2 separate regions of the Homo sapiens genome follow, and region 2 is linked to region 1. Evidence: promoter capture Hi-C in human tissues and cell types (Jung and others, 2019). All regions are on one chromosome and are shown on one strand. The core of a region is centred on a gene start or on the middle of the fragment in contact, and the rest is flanking DNA. Distances in the headings are between cores, read along the strand shown.

Region 1 (5,737 bases), core at 1,376-3,875:
GACCTGTGGCGTGGGTGTTATTATTTCCCACCTCCCAGATGAAGAAACAGAGGCACAGAGAAGTAACTTCCCAAGGTCACACAGTGGATCTGTAGAGGACCCAGGATGTAGGCCCAGTTCTGTCTGACCCAAAGTCTATTTCTTTTAGACACTTTTATACTCACTCTGGTACCCTGGATTCTCTGGCCTGGAAGGCACTGGCGAAAGCTCATCTTGCACAAGCCCCTTATTTGTCAAAAATGATGAAAGAAGCTCAGAGAGGTGAAGCAACTAAAACCCGGACCCTCTCACCCCTAGGCCAGGACTTTTATTTAGAGGCTTTTTCCATTTAAGTAGTGAATTTATTCTTAAATAGGTAATTCATGCACATGGTGCTAAATTCTGATGATGTAAAAGGAAATACAGAGAAAAGCAAGCATCCTTCTCCCACTCCTGAGCCTGTAATCATAGGGCCTAGGGCTTCTCTGCAGACAGAACCCAGCCAAGACTTTTCGTAAATGCCATGTGCACTTCAGGGCTTGGTTTGTTCTATTATATTTAGGGATGCGGTGCTGAGATGCTTGCCTGCAGAACAGCAAAAACCTCTGACTTCATTATTGTTATTCAGAGTAACCAGGGTCATTGCTCTCTGGCTTGCCTTAAAGCCAGCAAAGGCAATTGCCCATCCCTGGGCTTTTGGTCTGGAAGAGACCGTTGGCATCATTATTCAGCCCCCTCACTTTTCAGGTAAGGAGCTAATGAAGACAACATTCCCAGTGACACACGGCAAGTTACTGTGGTGTTGGGGTTTCAGTGTCAGGAGTCTCCTCTCTTCCTCTGGCATTTCTGCTACTATGCCAGGCTGGCTCCTTTCAGTAGACATAACATCATTGAAAAATACCACAAGTGCCCCTGTGGAGAGCAGAGCAGATAGCCATTAAAATTACAAAAGCTTATGCTTTTTGGCCCAACATTTCCACTTCAAGGCATTCAATTCTTCCTATAGATACACTCATGTGAGGGTAAAATGATCTCTGTATAACCTTATTCTTTGCAACACTGATTGTAATAAGGAAATATTGGAAGCAACCCAGATGCCTATGGGTGGGAGGTGAGTTACATAAATTAGGGACCATCCACACAAACAGAATATGTGCAGCTGTGAAAAGACTGGGCCACCTCTCCATGTGCAATAGGAACAGCTCCATCTTGCCAGGCGTGGTGGCTCACACCTGTAATCCCAGTACTTTGGGAGGTGAAGGTGGGGCGGATCCCTTGAGCCTAGGCATTCCAGACCAGCCTGGGCAATGCAGTGATATGCTCTCATTGTGTAAATAAAACAAAATAATACATTATTTGCTTTGCAGATGCCACTGCCGCCAGGAGCCCTGTAACATCAGCCATCGTCAACCCCACCGTGTTCTTCAACATCACCGTTGACGGCAAGCCTTTAGACCTGCGTCTCCTTCAAGCTGTTTGCAGACAAGGTTCCAAAGCCAGCAGAAAACTTTTGTGCTCTGAGCACTGGAGAGAAAGGATTTGGTTATAAGAGTTCCTGCTTTCACAGAATTATTCCAGGGTTTATGTGTCAGGGTGGTGACTTCATACGCCATAATGGCACTGGTGGCAAGTCCATCTATGGGGAGAAATTTGATGATGAGAACTTCATCCTAAAGCATACAGGTCCTGGCATGTTGTCCATGGCAAATGCTGGACCCAATACAAATGGTTCCCAGTTTTTAATCTGCACTGCCAAGACTGAGTGGTTGGATGGCAAGCTTGTGGTCTTTGGCAAGGTGAAGGCATGAATATTGTGGAGGCCATGGAGTGCTTTGTGTCCAGGAATGGCAAGACCGGCCAGAAGATCACCATTGCTGACTGTGGACAGCTCTTATAAGTTTGACTTGTGTTTTATCTTAACCACCAGACCATTCCTTCTGTAGCTCAGGGGAGCACCCTCCACCCCATTTGCTCCCAGTATCCTAGAATCTTTGTGCTCTCGCTGCGGTTCCCTTTGGGTTCCATGTTTTCCTTGTTCCCTTCCATGCCTAGCTGGATTGCAGAGTTAAGTTTATGATTATGAAATAAAAACTAAATAACAAAATAATAATAATAGTACATTATTTGCTTCTCAGTGCATACAACATCTCTGGAAAGATCTAAAAGAAACTGGTAGTAGGATTCAACAAGGTGGACAGGGGGCATTTTTTTCCATTTTGAACCATGTGGATGCATTATATATTCAAAATGTAAAACAAAAAACTCACAAGCATCTCTTACTTTTTCAACTTGAAGAAAAGAGAAGAAGAAGAAAACCCTAAAGTCAGTAAAGGTTAGCCTGGGTTCCTAGACTTAAGCTTGATAGTAACCAGAATGTCAGGCCACATGTGGTGTAGGTCATAGGGTCCTGGCTTTTGGTCACCCACTGTTAGGCTCATATAACAGACAAGGAGGTGCCATTGTCCGTTGTCTGTCCCTTTTACATCAGCTCATCTTGGCTCCTGATTTCCTGGGTCTGATATGGAAGATTCCGGGATTTTATTATTTCTAATCAACATCGCCTTCCCAAACCCCGCCCCTTGGCAGCCATAGCAAGGCCACATCTAGCCCAGGATCACATAAAAAGGGCTGTTTCCTCCCCTGAGGACCGACTGTGTGGAAGCACCAGGCATCAGAGATAGAGTCTTCCCTGGCATTGCAGGAGAGAATCTGAAGGGATGATGGATGCATCAAAAGGTGAGTGGGTGAAATCTCCATGGAGCCCCACATGCCCCTTCAGCCAGCTGGCCCTAAACTGCTCTCTTGCCTCTGCCGGGTGCCTGGGGCCATTGCCCTCTCACCCTGACTTGTGGCCCTGGTGCTGCTTGCTTTCTGTCTCATCCCTTTTTAGAAAACCCACAAACTTTTCATTTAGGCATAATTTCAGATTTACAAAAAGATTGCAAGAATAAAAAGAAGAATTTCCATATATCCTTTATCCAGATTCCCTAAATTATTACTGCATTTGCTTTATCCTTCTCGATCAGTGGACAGATAGATGATATAGACAGATAGATAGACAAATATATATTTTTTGAACTCTTGAGAGTAAGTTGCAGATATTACATTATTAAATATTTTGGTGTGTATTTCCTAAAGACAAGGACATTCTCTTACGTAACCAATACAATTATGAAGACCAGGACATGAACACCATTTCAATACTGTTATCCAACCCACAGATTTTATGCAGATTTCATCAACTGTCCCAATAATGTCATTTATAGCAGAAGAAAATCCTGGGTTAGGCTTTGCATTCCGTTGTTGTGCCTCTTCGGTCTCCTTTGTCTGGAATAGTTCTTCTGTCATTCTTGGAGTTTTGTGACTTCAACACTTTTGAAGAGTACAGACCAGTTATTTTGTAGAATGTCTCTCAATGTGTCCTGTCCTTTCTCAAGGTCACCTGATGGATTTCCCTACTGCAGAGGGTCTGTCTGCTGCTGTCAGCAGTGTCATTGCTTCTCAGAGTGGGGAATAGCAGAGCGGAGTCATGTGCCAGGCTCTGTGTCCCATGAGGATGCAGCCGCCTACCACCACCAAGAGCAGACACCAGAGCCCTCAGTTTTACTTCAGGGAGTCCGGGTGCTGCTAGGGAACAACGAGGCTGGGTTTGAACCCCTCTGCTGACTCCCCAGCCCACAAGCCCTCTGTAACCTCCCAGCAGGGTTTGCTCAGCAGCCTTCTCTCTTGCTTGAGAAGCTGCTTGATAAGCCAAGGAATGGCTGCTTTGAAACTCTGCAAAGGGACTAAGCCAGACCCTCCTAGTTTCCACCTTCTTTTTTGGAGGGTGACATTGCGAAATAAATCAGACTCTTCTTTTTAGTCCCAAGGCCACAGAGTTTTGAATTCCTCCTTAGATGGCTGACGCCTCAGCTAGACTCAGTCTTGGAGGGTACAGAGTCCTTAGGACTGAGAAAGGGTGGTGTGGTGTGATGGGAAGCACCTGCTGATTTGAGAGAAGATTCATGTCTAAATAGCCCTGTGGCTTTGGGCAGGTTACATCAATCCCGTGAAAGCACTATATAAATTACTGAGGACTACCTGAAGGAAAGGTAGTCCTGACCCACACTGTCATTTTCAAGAGGTGTGACCTGTTCACTGGGGAGGTTTGATGACTTGACTGAGGTCCCAGCCATGGGTGGCAGAGCTGGGACACAAACCCGGCGTGTGTTCATTTCATGCCACACTATGCTGCCTCCCTGCTGGGCACAATTTGACTTTACTCTCAAGGTCTAAATCACCAAAGACAGTCATCTCCTGGCCACCAGTGTTGGGGTGTTGGTGAGGGGAGCTGACGCTCCCTGAGGTGTCCTTTCTGATGGGCTTGTGCAAGTAACCATCACATGCCACCTTACAACATTAGCAAGTTGTGATGACTCCATGGTGTTTTCATGAATATGATTTCATTTGTTCTTCCAACCACTCTAGGAGGTCAGGACATCCAAATAGGGACCTGGAAGATGGTGATATGTGTGGGATAAAGGTAGGATTTCATATAAATGGAGGAAATGAGAAATTGTGCACTTTATGGTATTAGGACAACTGGTTAGTATTTAGAGAAAAACAAAGCCAGATATCTATCTCATGGCTTATCCCACAACGAATCCCAGAAAGGTCGAAGACGAAACTGTAAAGGCAATAGAAGAAAATGAAGGCAATATGAAAAATAATCTTAGAGTAGAGAAGGTGTTACAAAGGAAAATAGAAAACCTAGAAACATAAAGGAAAAGAACAGTAAAACTGACTCCAGAAAAATTAAAAATATGTGTAAGACAAAACCTCCAGAGTCAGAAGGTAATGGAACTGTGAAGGGTACTTTCAACACATATGAGAAGCAAATGCTGTTCTGTAGTATAAAAAGAGCTCTCAGATCTATAAGAAAATGACCAACATCCCAAAATATACATGGACAAAGAGCAGTATTAGGTAGTTCAAAGAAAAAGAAATATAAATTGTAATATATGAAAAGATGCTCAACCTTACTTGTAACGAGGGTGGTCATGAAATAAAACTGAAACAGCAGGCCAGGTATGGTGGTTCATGCCTATAATCCCCAAAATTTGGGAGGCTGAGGTAGGAGGATTGCTTGAGCCCAGGAGTTCGAGACCAGCCTGGAAAACATAGTGAGACCCTGTCTCCACAAAACAATTTAAAAATTAGCCGTGGCCCAGCAAGGTGGCTCATGCCTGTAATCCCAGCACTTTGGGAAGCCAAGGTGGGCAGATCACTTGAGATCAGAAGTTAGGGACAAGCCTGGCCATCATGGTGAAACCCCGTCTCTACTAAAAAATACAAAAATTAGCCGGGTGTGGTGGGGTACACCGGTAATCCCAGCTACTTGGGTGACTGAGGCATGAGAATTGCTTGAACCTGGGAGGCGGAGGCTGCAGTGAGCTGAGACTGCACTCCAGTCTGGGCAACAGAGCGAGACTTTGTCTCAAAAATAAATAAATAAATAAAAATAAAAATTAGCCAGACATGGTGGTGCATATCGGTAGTTCCAGCTACTCAGCTACTCAGGTTCAAGGCTGCAGTGAGCCATGATTGCAACACTGCACTTCAGCCTGGGTGACAGGCCAAGACTCTGTCTCTTAAAAAAAAAAAAGGTTATATAAAAGCAAAACAGCAATGAGATTTCATTTTTTCATTTATCAGATTAGCCAAGATTAAAAGTTTAATAGTAAATAGCTTTAAAAAGGCATCTTCTCATCTTTTTGTA
Region 2 (5,949 bases), core at 3,450-5,949, 33 kb before region 1:
CTCCCCAAAGAAGGAATATAGTGGCACAAAACTTCTTTGGAATCAGAGACATGCAAATGTTCCTGAAACATTAGGAGTTCAGCCTAGGTCTGGTTGCTTACCACACAGAAAGCCAATCACTGAGTCAAGGAGTATTGCCAGCGAAGAAGACTTTAAATGAGTGCCATAGCCAAGATAGGAGATCAGTCTCAAATCCTTCTCCCTGACTGACTAAAATTGGGAGTTTATATAGCAAGAAAGGTAACCATGTGTGGAAAAGCAGGAACTAGGGAGGGGTAAGGAAAAGGAGTTGGTTAACAGGAAACAGGTTGTCAGTTAGGCAGCCATGACAGGTGAGGGGCCTGGCATCTCATTTGTCCAGTTGCCATGATCTGGTAAGTTTCAGTTCCTTGATCTTGTCTGGGATGCCTGTTGGTTGGTTCCCTGAGAAAGGAACTCAGATAAGACAAATGTAACTTTCTTACGTTTTAAGACTGGGAGGGCCAATTTCTATGTTTATTCAAAAGAAACCATAAACATCAGTTCTAGGGGACAGTTGGGCCAGTTTCACAAATTAAAATAACAGCTATTTTCTAATCTTATAACTGGTAAAGTTTAAGACCCAAGGAAGATGTGCAGACAAGGATGATTACTCAAACTTCTGGAGGAGTTTATGTTCAGCCTTTGGGGAGGTAGTCTGGTAATACATAGCCTTATATTTTTTACATATCCTTTGAGTTTGCACTTTTAAAAATTCAGCCTAAAGAAATAATCTAGATACAAGAATGAAGTGCATAGAATAGTGAAAAATTCAAATCAACCAAAATATTTAGTGATAGATTAAATTGTGGTACATCCATAAGGTGAAATGGAGTCCACACAGTGAAAAGAGTGAGTACATGCAGAAATGTTTGTGATGTGTCAAGTTTTTTTAAAAGTGTGTGTTTATATGTGTGTATATATATCTGTGTATATCCATGTATATGTACATGTCTATGTACACACATATATATGTGTGTGTATATATATATATACATGCACACACATACCTACATACATATATATACATTTGGAAAGGAAAAGAAGGATAAGCAGTATCTGCTCTAATTTGGGAGGAATTACATATACTGTGTACATAGAAATTATGTATGCAACCTATAGGACTTCTAATTTTCTGTGCCAGTTTCCACAAAGCTACTTCCTGAAACTTTGATGGTCTATGACAATGAATCACAATCTGGTGCAAACTGCCCAGGCCCTCCTCAACTGGCTGATGGAGGCTCATCTTCACAGCTGTTTACTTTCCAGTATATAAAGGACTAGAGTCAATTGGTGAGACAACAACAAGTAACCAAGAGACCTTTGAGTCCTCCCCAGGAGAGGGAGATTGGCTTGAGATCCTGGGGGTGAGGAGAGAATGCAATTAGACCTCAAACCTAGAGTACAGTTAAACCTCAATTGGGATACCTATATATGTTTACTGTAATAATGTTAATCTCTAGACCTGTTCATCTAAATATTAACTGATTACTTTGTCTTAGAATGGATTAGCACACAAGCAAAAGAAATAGGTTTTTACATAAAACTTCCTTAGTCTGTTAAAAGTTGTACATAGTAATGATTTGGGAATCCTTATTGGAATACCATAATTAAGAAACTGTGATGATTGTCTCCTAACAGAGGGATATGCTCTGTGAGGACCTGGCTCATGCCACTGAGCAGCTGAACATGCTCACAGAGGCCTCAAAAAAACACTCGGGGCTGCTGCAGTCTGCCCAGGAAGAACTGACCAAGAAGGAAGCCCTGATTCAGGAACTTCAGCACAAGGTGAGAAACACACAGGTGTCACTCAAGATGGGAGACAAGAGACCAAGTGTAGTGGCTCACTCCTGTAATCCCAGCACTTTGAGAGGCCAAGGGGGTGGACCACTTGAAGTCAGGAGTTCAAGAGCAGTCTGGCCAACATGGTGAACTGAAACCCTGTCTCTACTAAAAATAGAAAAGTTAGCCGGGCGTGGTGGCGCTCACCTGTAATCCCAGCTACTTGGGAGGCTGAGGCACAAGAATTGCTTGAACCTGGGAGGTGGAGGTTGCAATGAGCCAAGATTGCACCACTGCACTCCAGCCTGGGTGACAGAGTGAGACCCTGTCTCAAAAAAAAAAAAAAAAAAAATGGGGGACAGGAGGAATCCACAGTTGAGGTTGTCATGACATTCCTGCATTGGCCAACTTCTCCATGTACAAAGGGGAGGCTAATGGAGTATCCTTACCTGGACTGAGACTTGCTCAGCTGCCTCCCACCCACCTTAGGTCCTTGACACATGGCAACCAGTTCTAACCACTCCAGTGAGGTTATGCCTGACTTTTATCATATTTTTGGTGGTTGTTGTTGTCATTTTATATTTTGTATTTTTCTCAGATGACTGTTTTGTTACTTGTGAAACTTGGAACATTTTTATAAGTATAAATAAATTTGTGAGAGAAAAGGAGATGGGTCCAGGTGCGGTGGCTCACACCTGTAATCCCAGCACTTTGGGAGGCCAAGGTGGGTGGATCACGAGGTCAGGAGATCAAGACCATCCTGGCTTACACGGTGAACCCCCGTCTCTACTGAAAGCACAAAAAAAATTAGCCGGGCGTGGTGGCCGGCTCCGGTAGTCCCAGCTACTCGGGAAGGCTGAGGCAGGAGAATGGTGTGAACCCGGGAGGCGGAGCTTGCAGTGAGCCGAGATCGCGCCACTGCACTCCAGCCTGGGCGACAGAGAGAGACTCCATCTCAAAAAAAAAAGAAAAGAAAAGGAGATGATGATTGGGTTATAGTAGCAACCAAGTTAGATTTCACAATTACTTTTAAAAATATCATAGGTTTATTTTAATATCTTACTGCTTTTCAAATTATTAATCAAGTTCTGAAAAAATAATGTAAATACAGCATATTTCCATATGCCATGGGAAGAAACCGCAATTACTTTTGCATCAACCTAATAACTGTAATCACCATGCCCTGCAGTAGATCTCCAAAAGGTATTCCTCCTGTCCAACTGAAACTATACCCTTTGACCAACATCTCCCATTGCTGATTCATGTCTCCTTCCACCCCTCACTTCCCCCAGACTCTGGTACTCTCCATTTCTATGAGTTCAACTTTTTTTGATTCCACATATAAGTGAGATTGTGTGGTATTTGTCTTTCTGTGCTGGCTTATTTTACTTGGAACAGTGTCCTCCAGGTTCATCCATGTTGTCACAAATGACAGAATTTGCTTCCTTTTTAAGACTAAGTAGTATTTCATTGTGTATATATATAGCACATTTTCTTTACCCATTCTCCCATCAATAGACAGTTAAGTTGACTCCATAGCTTGGCTATTACGAATAATGCTTCAGAGAACATGGGAGTGCCGCTGTCTCTTCAATAGACTGATTTTAATTCCTTTGGATATATATCCAGAGGTGGGACTGCTGGATCATACAGTAGTTCTGTTTTTAGTTTGTTGAGGAACTTCCATACTATTTTTCACAATGGCTGTGCTAATTTACATTCCCAACAGTATACAAGGATCCCTTTTCTCCACAACCTCACCAACACTTAACTTTCATCTTTTTGATGATAGCCATCCCTATCAGGTGCGAAGTGATATCTCATTGTGGTTTTCATTTGCATTTCCCTGATGATTGGTGATGGGAAGTTTGTCTTTTCTATTTGGACCATGTACCCCATATTACTAAGTTGTAACCTTGTATCTGTTCAATTTTCCCAGCTAAACCAAAAGAAAGAGGAAGTAGAACAGAAGAAGAATGAATATAACTTCAAAATGAGGCAACTAGAACATGTGATGGATTCTGCTGCTGAGGATCCCCAGGTACTTTTCAGAAAAAGATTATTTCAGGAGGAAGAAACAGTTTTGTAAATGATAAAAATTTGGAAATTAGGAAGAACATACCTTTGTCTTTTTAAAGAAAAAGATTTTCACTAATACCCTCTGTCTGCTTTTTACTTGATGAAAGTAGCAGTCTTTTATTTCCTTGGAAAAGAATTAGAATAATAAGCTAAGCAGCGGATTTTTTTTTTTTTTTTTTTTTTTTTTTTTGGCAGATGGAGTCTTGCTCTGTCACCCAGGCTGGAGTGCAGTGGCATGATCTCGGCTCACTGCAGCCTCCGTCTCCCAGGTTCAAGCAATTCTCCTGCCTCAGCTTCCCAAGTAGCTGGGACTACAGGTGCACACTGCCACGCCTGGCTAATTTTTTTTTCTGTATTTTAGTAGCGACAGGGTTTCACTGTGTTGCCTAGGCTGGTCTTGAACTTCTGAGCTTAGGCAGTCCGCCCACCTCGGCCTCCCAAAGTGCTAGGATTACAGGTGTGAGCCACCATGCCCAGCCGTAGCTAGAATATTTTTTATGTACTTGACATTTACGTTTAAAAGAAATCTTTATAATATCACTTAATTGGATATTTGGATGAGATGTGATTTTATTTTAGAGTCCTAAGACACCACCTCACTTTCAAACACATTTGGCAAAACTCCTGGAAACACAAGAACAAGAGATAGAAGATGGAAGAGCCTCTAAGACTTCTTTGGAACACCTTGTAACAAAGCTAAATGAAGACAGAGAAGTCAAAAATGCTGAAATCCTCAGAATGAAGGTAATTGGATTTTTTTTCCAGTAAATTTAATTATTTTTAAAGAGACCAAGTCTCGCTATGTTGCCCAGGCTGGGCTCAAGTGATCCATTTGCCTCAGCCACCCAGTATCTGGCACTATAGGTATATGCCACCATGCCCAGCCAGTAAATTTAATTTTTTTTTTTTTGTTTTTTTTTTGAGACGGAGTCTGCCTCTGTCGCCCAGGGTGGAGTGCAGTGGTGTGATCTTGGCTCACTGCAAGCTCCGCCTCCCAGGTTCACAGCGTTCTCCTGCCTCAGCCTCCCGAGTAGCTGGGACTACAGGCGCCCGCCACCACACTCGGCTAATTTTTTGTATTTTCTAGTAGAGACGGAGTTTCACTGTGTTAGCCAGGATGGTCTTGATCTCCTGACCTCATGATCCGCCTACCTCAGCCTCCCAAAGTGCTGGGATTACAGGTGTGAGCCACCGCGCCTGGCCAATTTAATTTTTTAAACTAAGCAGCATCCTCATGGTTACTGAGGATACAAAATTCAAAAAGCACAGAACTGAAAGGTAGACAGAGAAAAGTATTCCTTCTACCCCTGATACTAATCCACCTACTTTGCTGTCCCTGGAGGCTTCCAGGGTAGCCCCTTTCTTTTAGAGCTTTTTAATGCATACATAACCACATCGCTAAGCATTCTCTCCTGCCCCATTTGGTTTTTACACAATGGTGTCATATACAGGTTGCGCCAGCTATGCTCTCATCAGGAATGAAGGTGAGAGCATGTTTCCTTAAACCTCACCTCATGGTGCTATCTGAATTTCGGATCTTTGTCCGTTTAATAGCTAAAGTATTAAATGATGTAGTTTTACATTTATATTTTTCTTAAGAGTAAAATTGAGCATCTTGTTTTTCTGTTTCTGTGAACAATATCCATTACCCATTTTTCTATCACTGGACTTTTTCTTATTGATTCATAGGCATTTTTATATATTAGAGATTTTTTTAGTCTCTGATAAATTTAAAATACTTTCTTGTTTTCCATTTTTTTAAGCTTCCTCATAGTGTTTTTACCCAGTTACTTGATGGTATGTTGTCTGAGTAGTGGGGTGTGCACATGGCTCAGGGGTGGGGCACATGGAAGAGTGTCTGGGTAGGTGTGTAGGTGCATGGGGAAGGATGTGATGCTCCACAGAAGATAGCATTTATCCTGTGAGGTCATTGCTCTGCAGGGAGTTTTTGTTTAGGAACACAAATTGTTCACTTTAACCAAGGGATGTATATAAAGACAGCACTTATCTTGAGTTTTGTTATTCATGGAGAAGATTATTCCCAATCTTTTTATTTAGGGCAGTTCTCAG

What was found. Contacts are between HindIII fragments. The study calls those that stand out against the background at their distance.
Region 2: a contact is called between a fragment that was not itself captured here and the fragment with the promoter of TGM4 in region 1, in 3 of the 25 tissues and cell types used here (mesenchymal stem cells, pancreas and spleen).

The regions. Positions count from the first base shown.
Region 1 is chr3:44,871,983-44,877,719 of GRCh38, forward strand. TGM4 (transglutaminase 4) reads left to right here and starts at 2,626. Exons shown (of 14, transcript NM_003241.4): 1 at 2,626-2,715. The coding sequence starts at 2,697. It also overlaps the pseudogene PPIAP18. The HindIII fragment of the contact is 8,283 bases long and covers 2,047-5,737 here.
Region 2 is chr3:44,836,616-44,842,564 of GRCh38, forward strand. It overlaps KIF15 (kinesin family member 15), which reads left to right. Exons shown (of 35, transcript NM_020242.3): 27 at 1,660-1,806; 28 at 3,740-3,841; 29 at 4,459-4,623. Among named protein-coding and RNA genes, the nearest start is that of MIR564, 22 kb to the right of the region's middle. The HindIII fragment of the contact is 7,865 bases long and covers 768-5,949 here.